Linked DNA regions of Homo sapiens: region 1 is linked to region 2. The links are contacts of gene promoters, found by promoter capture Hi-C in blood cells and fetal thymus (Javierre and others, 2016). All regions are on one chromosome and are shown on one strand. The core of a region is centred on a gene start or on the middle of the fragment in contact, and the rest is flanking DNA. Distances in the headings are between cores, read along the strand shown. Region 1 holds the start of LOC124904886 (a long non-coding RNA gene). Region 2 holds the start of TM9SF4 (transmembrane 9 superfamily member 4).

Region 1 (6,510 bases), core at 3,183-5,682, 380 kb after region 2:
GACGAAAAACCCCCAGCATCTAAAGCAACAGGGGTTCAAATCCTTGTTGTGAAGGAGCCGCACACATGAAACAGGAGGGTGGTCTGAGCCACAGCTCCTGGGGGGTGTGGGGTCCCAAGGCTGTTGCTTCATGGCTACACCCCAAGCCCACCTAGCCACCAGGGAAGGAGGCCAGCCTTCCAGCACTCCCTGCACAATTCCACTCCTTCCTGCAAACATGCCTCCTCTGCTTACTAGCCATGCAAGCACCAGCTCTTCTGGGAAATATGAGGCAGGAAGGGCTGAGACACAGCCAATCACCTACCACACTGGAGGCATTCTCGCTCTCTCTCCCTCACACTCACTCACACGCACACTGTGTCTGTCAGAAGCGTATTCCCATCTACATGTGGTCCTCTGTTGTCCCTGCTGTCATAGACACCTGGATGCTGGAAGTGAGCATTTCCCACACCTTCCCACTGTATATCAAGTGGAAAACAGGCTTTTGTTCCTAAGCAAAGGCACCTGGCTGCTCCCCATCAGCATTCCTCACCACGAGGGCCTCGCTGGTACCCTCAGACCCTGCCATTAATGGGGGTTTCTTTAAAAGTGAAGCTGGAGAGAGGAGCTTCAGCAGACAGGGATCTTCCAGCCAAAAGGAAGGCTGGAAGGGAGCCGCTGTGAGCTAATCCCCTGCAGGGCTGTCCTTCCAAGAAAGGAACCCAGACAACACAGAAAAAGTTCTTGAGCAATTCCCAGGCGGTCCAGCTCCACAGAGCCCCAGGGTAGGGGCCGCAGGAAAAGTTCCCCAAAGGCGTCTTCTCAGCTGGGAGGAAGGCCGTCTTCTCAGCTGGGAGGAAGGCCGCAGTGAGCTCTGTTCCCACTGTGCGGCAGGAAGGTGCTGAATAGGGTGGTGTCGCCCAGCTCAAGAGGTGCTGTCTTAAAACCCTGCTCTATAAAGCAAGCCCAGCCTGAGCCTGGATTAGACAGGAGCTTGATATTATTCAAGGACACATTTAGGCCCTAATGGCTTTCCAATGAAGGGGTAATTTACTACCCGGGGGGCTAAACTACCACAGGGCCTGGGCCATAAACGGGCCTTTTCCCCAGACCAACTCAGTCCAGAATCCGGCCTGTGTCAGGGGTCAAGACAGGGGCCTGGTCCCATCACACAGATGGCTCTCCCCAGAAGAGCCATGAGGTCCCCCAAACACCTCTCCCCACACCCCCTTTGGTGTGTGTGAGTTGGTGGGGCGGGGCGGGGGGGGGGGAGCAGGCTGGGGTTGCCAGCTGATTCTGGGATAAGTAGGGCTTTATCTCAAGGGAGAATCTATTTCAAGCCACAATCCTTCTCAGAAAGAGGAGGAAATCACAGAGTCCAAACACCATTTCAGGTGAAATCAGGAGGTTATTCATCTCCCCTCAGAGCAGACAGAAAGGAAAATCAATGTTTTAGAGGGGGAAAAAAGGTTCCATTTGAATTAATGGGTTTGTGGCTTCTCCATTGATCTGAGCCTCTTCACACTTTCTTTTTGTGCTTTTGTGCTCTTGGGGAGAGGGGAGGGAGTAGGGAATGGGGAGGAGGGGGTGGGCCTCCCATAAGGAAAAGGACGGTCTAACCTTAACCTTTCTACAGGAATAATGCTAATTAGCGAGGCTTAATGAGAACTTCCCCCAGGAAGCGCAGCCCGGTAGGGGCGGCCGGACTCGGGCAAACGCAGCTCCGGGTGGGAGCAGGGTCACTTCTGCTCCCGAGCGGCTGGAATAAAAATGCGGATTGCACTCCCCCCTCCTCCCTATCCAAAGTGTCCAGCCTTGAAGACAAGGTGGAGGGAGGAGAGAGAGGGCGGAGGTGTAAATCCAACTTAACCCCTGCGCGCGCCCTCGAGGCGGCCGGCTGCCCCCGCCCCGCCGTGTCCCCTCATTAAGGAAGGCCCCTTCGCCAGGGGCCGCCAACGCCCGCGGCTTCCGGTCAGACGGTGCACCTGAGAGGGACACCCCGTCCCCTCCCGGGAGGGACCCGGGCCTGCTGAAGTGGGCTCAACTCTGCAAACCGCGTCTCAACTCCCCGCGCCGCGCCGGGGAACCCCTCCCTGACACTCAACGCTTCCCGTCCTCACATCCCCAAACACAGTCCACTTCCCTTCTCGTGGCGGCCGCGGCAACCCGAGCCCGGCCCCCGCCCCGCCGCCAGAGAACGCCTCCCTCGCCGGGACGCGGTGCCGAGCCCGCTGCACACCGAGCGGCCGTGGCACAATACCGCGGCGCTGCGCGCACAATCACCGCCCCCCAGGACCCGCGGCGCGCACCCCGGGAGTGGGGTGCGCCCCGCGACCCTGGGCGCTCAGGGCCAGACACACCTCTTGGGCGCCCCGCGGCCCCCACAGTGCAGCCTTCATCGCCCCCCCTCCACTCTCGGGCACACTCACCCGCCCCCCGCCCCAGCCCACTCGGCCCAGGGCGCAGCCGCTCCCCCGCGCCCCCTCCCTCAGCCCCGGCAAAGGAAGCTCCCCCTGCGCCCCCCTCCCCAGAACCGCCCCCAGCCCCTCGCCCCCCTAACCGCAGCTCAACGGCCGGCGGCAGCAGCCGGAGAAGGGGGGCGGCGGCCCGGGCCCCGGAAACGGCCCGATCGCCGGGATCCGGGCCGGACTCCGTACCTGGGCTGGAAGCGAGGCGGAGATGGGCGGTCGGGATCCGCGAGTGAGCGGGGCGGGCGGCGGTGACAGCCCCACAGCTCCAGCTGCTGCTGCTGCTGCTGCCGCCGCGGCTGCCCGGGGAGAGGGGCTGGCACCACCGCGGCGCGTCACTGCCCGGCCCGGGGGCGGGGGTGGCCAGGAGGAGGGCCCAGGCGAGCAGCGGCGGCAGCGGCGGCGGCGCCGCGGCCCGGAGGAAGGGGGAGGGGGCACCGGGCACGGGGAGGCGGGAGAGGGGGCGGGACCGGGCACGGGGCGGGGGCGGGGGGGAGGGGAGCGCAGGGAGGGCGCAGGCAGGGGGAGTAGGAGGAGCAGCAGGAGGAGGTGGCGGAGGGGCGGGTGAGAGGGAGGAGTGGGCACGGGGGGAAGGGGAGAGAGGAAAAGGAGGCACCCAGGGAGAGGGGAGAGGAGAAAGGAGGGAGAGAGGCGCGGGGGGAGAAGAGGAGGAAGGAGGGGGAGCTGGGCCAGGTAGGGGGGGATAAGGGCGCGCTGGACGCGCCGCCGTGCGCTTCGGTGGGGAGCGCGCTCTTAAGGGGGAAGCGCTTCGAGGAAGATCCTTGCACGGGGCTGAGCCCGGAAAGAAGGCGCTGGGATCTGTGCCTACCCATCGCTCCCGGAGGCTGCGGTCTCTGGGTCCGGTGGGGGCTGGGGGGAGAGGGCACCCGGCGGGCTGTCTGCGGTCAGGCCAGGAGAGGGAGACTTGGCCCAAATAAAGTGACTCAGGCACCCTCAGGAACTCTCGGCGCCCGGGGCCCCTTCGGGCAGCCTTCGACCCCCATGCGTCTTTCGGGTCCCCAGGGACGCGGGTACTTGTGGGGCGGGGCTGCCGGGCCTCGGGGTTCGGCTCCCCCGGGCGGCCGGAGCGAGACCCCGGGCTGGGAAAGCCAGGCACGTGGCCGGCTCTCGGCCGTACCCCCGCCCCACCCCCACGGCAGGGCCCCCAGTGCTTGATCAAGTTCAAGCTCGAGCTCCTCGGCGCGCTGCCCACCGGCTGCCCCTCCGCGCCCCTCCCCCTTCCCCATCCGCACCGTCTCGCTCTTCACTCTTCCTTTGTCTCTTTCCCACCACTTAGTTTACACCCCCTCCGCCCTCCTCCCCGCCCCCCGCGGGCACCCGAGTGTCCGGGAGGCGCTCACCTGTTCGACCCAAACATCTACGCGACCCCCAGCGCCCGCCGCCCGCGTGCCCGCCCCCGCCCCGCCGCCGGTCATTGTGCTCCGCCAGCCCACACCGGGCCGGGTCCTGACGGCGCGCGAGCCACAGTTGTAAAGTAATAGGATAATCTCGGGGACGTCGCTCCAGCCCAGACCCGGGCACGCACTGTCCGTGGAGACGGCACCGCCGGGGAGGGGAGCCACGCGGATTCCAGATGCGGTCCCCCAGGCGGACAGACCCTTGCCCGGGGCGCAGGAGGAGGCAGGACTGGCATCGCGGGGTGGGAGCCCTGGACCTCCGAGCAACCTCGGACTCGGCCCGAAAAGCAACACTCTCATCACCAAACCGCAGAATTAGACCCCGATGGAGAAAATGGGTCAGGGGATCCATTCCCACCCCACCCCTCCAAATCCAGACCCTCCGCTACCACAGATCAGCCTCGAAAAAAGCTTGTGCTTCAACAAGGATGGGGAACTGCCCTCGTGGAATTCTGTGGGGAAATTGCCAAAAAAAAAAAAAAAAAAAAAAAAAAAAACAACTAAAAAAAAACCCTGATAAGGATCCCACCTCCTGATTCCTCTGGTCGCATCCGAAGAGGAAGGGCAATTTCTACTGACTCTTTACGCTACCATTCATTCACGGTGGAACCAGCAGAGAAGAGAAAACGAGACAGCCACAGCGATTGTTTGCAATTTTGAAACAGACTGCCTTTAACCCTCCAACTTTTTTTCTGTAAAAAGCCTTTTTTCTTTCTTCCTCTGAAAGCTTTGCATTGTGAACAATCCATGGTAAACAAGGCTCCCTCTACAGCCGCGAGTGCGAAGTACAACCCCACAGGTTCAGAGCCCAGCGTTTACCCGTCAGAAAAATAAAATGATGACAAGACATCACATTAGCGCCACGCAGGCTTCCTTCCGCACATGCTCAAGACTCTGCTGTCAATAGAAAACTCACACTTTCTTTTTAAAAGAGGGTTTAGGCACATTTACTCATTTGCACCTTTTATTCCTGAAATCAAATGTGTTTTCAAACCAATTCACTCTCCCCAGTTTACTGGATCTTCTCATCCTTGGTGATGTGGGGCAGGTGGGAGGCTTTATTTATCCACACATGCTGGTGCCCAATAATGATTTTTAGAACGAACTAGTGGCCACAGCTCTTAAGTTCATCCAGGAAATGTGTTTCCAAACGCGGGAACTGTCCATCCTCACTCTGAAAATGAGATAATTCAGACTCAGGATTTCCCTTTCCCCACCACATTTTCAGAGACCTTTGACTTCTCCTGGCCTGAATTACTATTTCACAGCAGTGGTGGACATCTGAGCTTGAAATATAAAGCCAAATACAACTGAAGTTCAAAGGTGGAATTGAACCCAGATAACCCACCTCTTCTCTGACTAATAAAAGAGAGCTAGTACCGCCCAGGAGGGCAGAGCAGTGATTTTCTGTAGGCATGAAACGTGAACTCATTTACTATCCCTGAGATAAAACAGCCCAGCCCTGCTCAACCCACAGAAAACAGTTGAGAGCCCTGCAGAAACCTGGCTGTTGAGCGGCACTGCAAATGAGGTGAGTTTTCATGTGTGTGTGCTGAAGCCCTCAGAAATCTCCCAGATCCTTATTCCTACAGGAGCTGCCACTCCTGGAGTAACCTTGTATAGGTTGTTTTCAGTGTCCTTGTGCCACTCCCCCACTCCTTAAAGTGGCCACAGCATGAGTCCCAATGAGGAATCGGGTGACCTAGTTTCTTGACCACTAATTCTCCCAGTGATGTGTCCCTTCTTCTGGCCCCAGCCTGGTAGGAGACCATGGCAGAGAAAGCTGATCCCATCTGCTTCGGGGGGACAATGCTGCCACAGGTCCCCTCCAGCCTCTGAAGACATTGGGTGCTTTTGTAAACAGATGATTAGGGTATGCTCTGATGGGGCTTTTTAAGCAGCAAACCCCTTTCTTTCATGCAGCTTCCCATATGAAGTAAGCATGTCCCACAAGTGGGGACCTGGCCATGGGACTCTGGTTTGCCATTATTAGGACAAATAGGATCTTAGCGTGACCAGAGCAGACACTGTTCAAGCACGTCAAAACATTAAAAAAAAAAATTATCCCCACAAATGACTTATTAATGACAGAGAAGAAAATGTACCTGCAATGGGGCGATCTGGCAGACACTTCCCAATCAAGTCATCAAATTCAGCAGCCTCCAAAGTGGGGCCACCAGACATGATGTCCTCGGCTCCTGAAGGGAGGCACTGGAAGACACAGCATCACTTGAGCCATGTGCTCCCCCAACATGCTTCACCTGAATCTGCTCCTCAAGAGACAACCAGACAAGAAATCCAGAAAGAGAAACTCCACAACACAACAGTCTTGGACTCTACAAAACATTCATTGTCACTAATTGACTTTCTAAACGATAAGATGAAAGAGAAATAACAGCCGGGTGCAGTGGCTCACACCTGTAATCCCAGCACTTTGGGAGGCCGAGGCGGGTGGATCACCTGAGGTCAGGGGTTCGAGACCAGCCTGGCCAACATGGTGAAACCCAGTCTCTACTAAAAACACAAAATTGGACGGGCGTGGTGGCACACACCTGTAATCCCAGCTACTCGGGAGGCTGGGGTAGGAGAATTGCTTGAACCCAGGAAGCAGAGGTTGCAGTGAGCCGAGATCATACCGTTGCACT
Region 2 (6,363 bases), core at 995-3,494:
AAGGCAGGCAGATCACTCGAGGTCAGGAGTTCTAGACCAACCTGGCCAACATGGCGAAACCCCATCTCTACTAAAAATACAAAAACTCAGCCGGGCTTGGTGGCATGCACCTGTAATCCCAGCTACTCAGGAGGCTGAGGCAAGATAATTGTTCGAATCCGGGAGTCAGAGGTTACAGTGAACTGAGATTGCGCCACTGCACTCCAGCCTCGGCAACAGAGTGAGACTCCATCTCAAAAAAAATTTTTTTCAGAAAAAAAAGAGAAACTTGCCCATGTTATGGAGCTAATGAGTGGTGGAAATGCGTTCTGAACCCAGGCAGTCTAGTTCTAGGATTCTGGCATATGTCACCAAAAGAGATTGGGATATGAAAGGCCTTTAGGGAAAAATACAAAGCATGAGAAAAAAAATGGAAATACTAAAAAATAATAGGCCATTTATGGAGCTTTGCTCCTTATCAGTTATCTTTCTTCAGGCAGCTAGAAATGGTGGGAAACACTCAGGATCGAAGCTCTAGGAAAACTGGTTCCAAGTCTGGAAACTATGAGACTGCAGCAAATTCCCCCTAGTCTCTCAAGCTTCCTCCTCCTTGGGGTTAATAGCCAATCTGCCAATCTTCAGGATGGTTGTGCAGGTCACAAGAGTTAATGGGTGTGTGTTTCAATGATCTATTACTGAAATGATCTATAATAAACCACCCCACTCTAAAGCTGGGCTTAGCTGGGCAGTTCTTTTGGTCCACATGGTGTTCATGAGGTTATTCATGTAGCTGCATTCAGCTAGTAGCTCAGTGGGGGTTGGAATGTCCAAGATGACTTCAGTTACATATTATAGTGCTTAGCTGTAGTTTCTAGAATGTCTTGAGGAGTTGGCTGGGCCTCCCTCTCTCTCCAGGTGCCTTTCCAGCAGAGTAGCTACACTTCTTTATAACCAAGAAGGTAGAATCAGACGTTTTCAATCCTCTTAAGGCCTAGGCTCAGTACTGGCAGAATCACTTGTAGCACATCCTATTGGTCAAAGCAACCAACATGACCAGCCAGATTCAACAGGAGGTAAAACAGAGTCTATCTCTTGAGGAGAGAAACCGTATGCTCATCATGCAAGGACGGACAGAACTACGTGGCAGCCATCTTTGCAGAAAATCCACCACAGTGGTGCCCATAGGTGGGGATCAGAGTTCAACTGTCCCTTGCCCCCTAGAATTAGATAAAAAGAGTCTAATGAACTGTTAGCATAATGCTAAGTGCTGCAGCACACAAAATGCTCGGCAAGTGCTGATGATTATTATTAATCATTATTATTCTTTTAATAGCTTTTTTAAAACAGTCTAAGATAGCACTGGTACTGTATTCAGTTTAAAGTGATATACATGGGTCAAATGAACTTTGAGTTCTTTCCCAACCTTAATACCATGATTCTTTGAGTCTCTTTTTCACAGATTTGGAAACTGAGGCTTAGGAAGATTGCGTGACTTGTCTGGAGTCACACACTAAGCTAGTGCATGACGTCCACATTCAGAGATATCTCCCTCCACTGAATATGCTGGTTTTCACTCGTTCATTTAAAAAATAATGTATTGGGCATCTACCACAAGCCCAAAGGAGTATACATAAACATATACTGACAATTATTTATTGAATACATCCTATGTAATACTGTGTCACTGAATCCTCATCACAAGCCTATGATGAACCAACCCCCTTCCCATTTCACAGATGGGAATGAGGAAGAGCAAGGTAAAAAACGAACAAACAAAAAAACAGGGTCCACCCTCATGGGGATTACAGTCTACTAAAGAGGATATAGGATAGTCAAACAAATACTTAAAATCAAACAAATACTTAAATATATAATTACAAATTATTCTTGGAGTCGTACTGCTCTTGGAGCCCCAGTGCCCACCCTTTCCCTCAAATCAAGGTCTCAGGTAACCCTGGCAATGGGTCTTCCTGCCAGTAGTAAAGATGGCGCTGAGAGCACGAGCGCACTTTCGCACACCCCCATTACCCACAATGCAGCGGGAATAAGGGAGGCTCAGTTTCTGCCAGGAGCTAATATGGCTTCCTTAGTTACACCGTTCTCTCTCTTCACCTAATCAGCGACCTTACTTTCCCAGACCAGACTGTCGAGCAGGAGCTAAGACTCCTTTTCCCCTCTGCTGACCGCCACTACAGGAGCGGTTGAAGCCAGACGACCACCTTGTGGAGTTAAACTCCGTAACCAGGGAGCACCACTTCCGCTGACGTCATTACGGCGACACGTGGATCCAAGATGGCGACGGCGATGGTGAGTGAAGGAGACTCCGGGAGCGGGAGCTGGAGCGGGGCCCTCCGGGGTATCCCAGGATCTTCCAGCACCCCATGCCTGGCCCTGAGCCACCTCCGGGACCCCTGACTCAGGCCTGAGGGCTACCTCTGACTGGGCTTGTCTTCCCCGAAATCCACCTCCCTGGCCCTGCCCCTGCACTCAGGCTTGTGAAGGCCCCGAGTTTTGGGGGAGGCGCCGTTTCGGAGGAAGACCTCGGCTGCTGCCTTCGCCGGTTCCCATTCTACTTTTGGTCTCCGCCCACTGTGAGCCCCATTTTCCATTTCTCACCTCCCTGTCCTGACCCCTCTGAAGACCCCCTCCCGTTATTCTCATCCTTGCTCCTCCCCGTCACGTCCAGACCCTGCTCTCCCCGCCTCCCCACCATCATAACCAGTCCGCAGATGTGACCTCTCCTCTGACCACCCTCCCAGCCCAAGCGCTGCCTCAGATCCTTTTCAGAGCCCTGTCCTCACTTACACTCATAGCTGTCCCCATCGCGCACCCCCTTGACTGCCGCTACCCCAGAGCTTGCCTTCACCTACCCCACCCCCATCTTTCATCCCTAGAGGCTTCCCTGCCCTTCCTGTCTTCTCTCAGTCAACTCCCTGCCCCTCTCTTAGGGACCTTTTACCCTGTTGGTTCTCAAACTTTACTGTGCATAAGAATCTCGAGGTGTGTAGGGGGAGGCATGCTAAAAATGCAGTTTCCTGAGCAGCCCCACTCCCAGAGATTCTAATTCCATAGGGCTAGGTGATGCCCAGGAATCTGCCCTTTTATAAGCACTCTAGTGATTATATAGTGGAGGTGGTCTGTGAACTACGTTTTGAAAAACACTAATAGCCCCACCTCACTGCTCTCCTTCCCATTCCCCAACATGGCCACACAGCTCGTTAGGGATGAAGGCTCTTTATTATGAAGCTATATGTTGGGATGAAGTCTGTGTGTGGATGAGGGTGGAGGTAAAATAGCCATGCTTGGAAGTTGGGTCAGAGCTTGCGGGCTCCTGGTGCAGAACCTTGGAAGTAAATCTTTGAAGGACTGGCCCTTTTTCTAAAAGTTTAGTTCAAATTCTGCTTGTCAAGAGACCAGAACTAAAATTGAAGTCACTTAGTCCAGAATGATTTCCTGGGTCTTCCTGCATACTGCCTCCTCAGCAGATAATTTCGTCCGGGGAGTGAATGACAAGGAAGACTCAGAGAAAAGGAAATGACATTTGACTTTAGCAAAGGAAGATTCTGGCTTAAATAATTTGGTGTTGGTTTTCTCCAAACAGGGATATATTATTGACTGGTAGCAATTTTCCCTCCTTCTCTTAGCTGACTGAGAACTTACCTTTGTTTAATGAGGGATTCCTTATTTAGAACTTCAGAGGTCAGGTAAAAAGATTTCATGGCCTTACCTGGTTTCTGTGGTTTCAGACTTCAGGCTGAACCACGAGTGGGGCAAATCCTCAAAGTAGTATGTTGAAACCTACATATATGTATATATATTCTGGTACCACATTCAGAACAGAGATAGTGTAAGAACTTAAAAGGAAATCACACCCTCTCTTGCTATAAGGAAAACATTGAGTAAAGTGGTATTTACGGCACTGCACTGGGAAATCCCTGCCTTGTTCAGAGATTTTTAAGAGGTTATAAGCTAGCAATACATATATGTGGTACACATCTATTTAGTCAACAAATATTTGAGTACCAATTCTGTTCCAGGAACTAGGGATGTAGTTGTGAATTACAGGGTCAAGGTCCCTACACTTGTGGAGCCTTTCTGGTTTGAGGAGACAGGCAGTGAACAAGTAAATACGTGAACAAAATAATGTCACCAGTAGATGCTGTGAGGACAGCAAAATGAAGTGATAGTGATTAGGGGTGACTGGGTGACACAACTACTTTGGATTGAGTGGTCAGAAAGAAGTCTTCTCAGAGGAGGTGACTTGAGTTAAAACATAATTAACAAGAAGGAACCAGCCATGCAAAGAATGTTCCAAGCAAAGGAAATGGCAAGTGTAAGGGGCCGATGTGGAAGGGAGCTTGGTGTTTTTGAGGAACACACAGAAGGCTGGAGGGGCCGAAGCATGATGAGGGTTGGGGTAGGAGAGAATGATACAAGATGAAACTGGAGGGAAGCAAGAGCAACTGTTTTGAGAAGCATGCCTGGAAATGGGAAGGACTGCGGTCTACATTTTGTTGTCTGTGGATTGCATTTTGAAATAGTGTTGTATTAGGCTGCTTCCCCTTCCCATCCCCTTCAGGACAGTACTTGAAGGGAGCCAGCTTGTTCTCAGTTGGCACAGAGGCTGTGGAAAGGAGTTTGGATTTTAGTCTAAGCACAGTGGAAGGGACAGTGATTTTTGCCCAGCACAGTGACTCACACCTGTAATCCCAGCACTCTGGGAGACCAAAGCTGGGAGATCGCTTGAGCTCAGGAGTTTGAGACCAGCTTGGACAACATGGCAAACCCCTCTACAAAAAAAATACAAAAAGAAAAAATTAGCTGGGCTTGGTGGTGTGCACCTGTAGTACCAGCTACTTGCGGGGCTGAGGTGGGAGGATCACTTGAACCTCAGTGAGCCCTGATCACTGCACTGCACTCCAGCTTTGGCAACAGAGCGAGACCCTGTCTTAAGAAACAACAACAGGCCGGGAGCAGTGGCTCATGCCTGTAATCTCAGAATTTTGGGAGGCTGAAGCAGGCAAATCACTTGAGGCCAGGAGTTCAACACCAGCCTGGCCAACATGGCGAAACCCTGTCTTCTAAAAATACAAAAATTAGCAGGGTGTGGTGGCACACACCTGTAATCCCAGCTACTCGGGAGGCTGAGGCACAAGAATCGCTTGAACCCGGGAGGCGGAGGCTACAGTGAGCCAAGATCGTGTCACTGCACTGCAGCCTGGGTGACAGAGTGAGACCCTATCTCAAAAAAAAAAAAAAAACAAAAAACAAAACACACCACCACCAACAAAACCCTGCAAGTACGGTGATTTAGTGTTTGTTGTGCCACCTGGGAGTGTTGTACTGAAAACAGTAACTGATTTAAAGAAACTGAGTATGTAACATATGCAGTGACCCACAGAGGCCAGTTTAAAGGGTGCATATGGAGAAACTTCATATCTGGTGCAATAGTGAAAAGGTGTGGAAGCAAATTTATTACAGGGGTATGTGATGAAGGGGCAAAGTGGAGTCACAGGCTTGAGTTTGGTCTGTGTCAGCACTTCATTACACGGAAGTCAGAATAGTCCCCACACCCTCATACACACCCTCATTTCATAACCATTGGGGCGAGGGGGTGCGGTAGACCTACTTTGGAGTGTATGGGTCTCTGAGGTGAGTCATACAGCCAAAGAGGAACTGAACTAGTGGATCCAGTGGCCGTGGGAATAGCTGGGTTGCTGGTTTGTCCTTTGTTTTGAAAGTTAGGGTTGTGGGTGCAAGTGCGGTGGCATGTGAGCTTTTCCCTTTCTCTCTTTCCTTGGTGAATGGCTCTTCTTCCCCAAGGGTTGAGCCGCCAGCTCCCAGAACAATGTCAGTATGGAGGGTGTTTCCTGAACCCGCAGGGCAAGACTTCTCCCTCCATAGAAGATAGCTGGTGTAAACTGAAGTTCTCTTTGATTTTCCTGTCTTCTTCCATCCTTAGATTTAGACTACTCTGTAAAGTTACAGGATACAGTGTTGATCTAGCTAGGTCTGAATTGAGATGCGGGCTCATGTCTCACTCTTTATGGAAAACGGTTCTTGGGAATATTATTTCATTGAAACTTGGGAAATGTCCATTGAGTACATTTCTAGATGTGTCAGGAGTCTAGAAACTTCAGTTTGGAGAATAAAACTCTACTTCCCTCACATCATTGTTCATACTGTTTTGGTTTTTATTATAATCTTCTTTATGGATATAATTCATATGCCATAAAATTCACCCCTTTAAAGTATATAATTTAGTGGGTTTTAGTGTTTTTATAGGTTGTGCATACACTAAATGTGATGGTTATCACCATTGTGTAATTCGGAACATTTCATCACCCCAAAAAGAGAGTCACTCCCTACTCTTCCCTCCCCACA

Evidence for each region. Contacts are between HindIII fragments. The CHiCAGO score rates a contact against its expected background, and 5 or more counts as called.
Region 1: a fragment that was not itself captured here is called in contact with the fragment with the promoter of TM9SF4 in region 2 in 1 of 17 cell types (M1 macrophages); the score reaches 6.0 in M1 macrophages.

The regions. Positions count from the first base shown.
Region 1 is chr20:32,480,726-32,487,235 of GRCh38, forward strand. The region is part of intron 4 of NOL4L (nucleolar protein 4 like); the gene reads right to left. It overlaps LOC124904886 (a long non-coding RNA gene), which reads left to right and starts at 5,305. Exons shown (of 2, transcript XR_007067564.1): 1 at 5,305-5,396; 2 at 5,789-6,510. RefSeq lists silencers at 2,170-2,279, 2,640-2,799. The HindIII fragment of the contact is 316 bases long and covers 4,275-4,590 here.
Region 2 is chr20:32,107,470-32,113,832 of GRCh38, forward strand. TM9SF4 (transmembrane 9 superfamily member 4) reads left to right here and starts at 2,245. Exons shown (of 18, transcript NM_014742.4): 1 at 2,245-2,286. The coding sequence starts at 2,272. RefSeq lists enhancers at 1,562-2,761, 1,764-2,508, 2,166-2,345, 2,509-3,251. The HindIII fragment of the contact is 7,759 bases long and covers 577-6,363 here.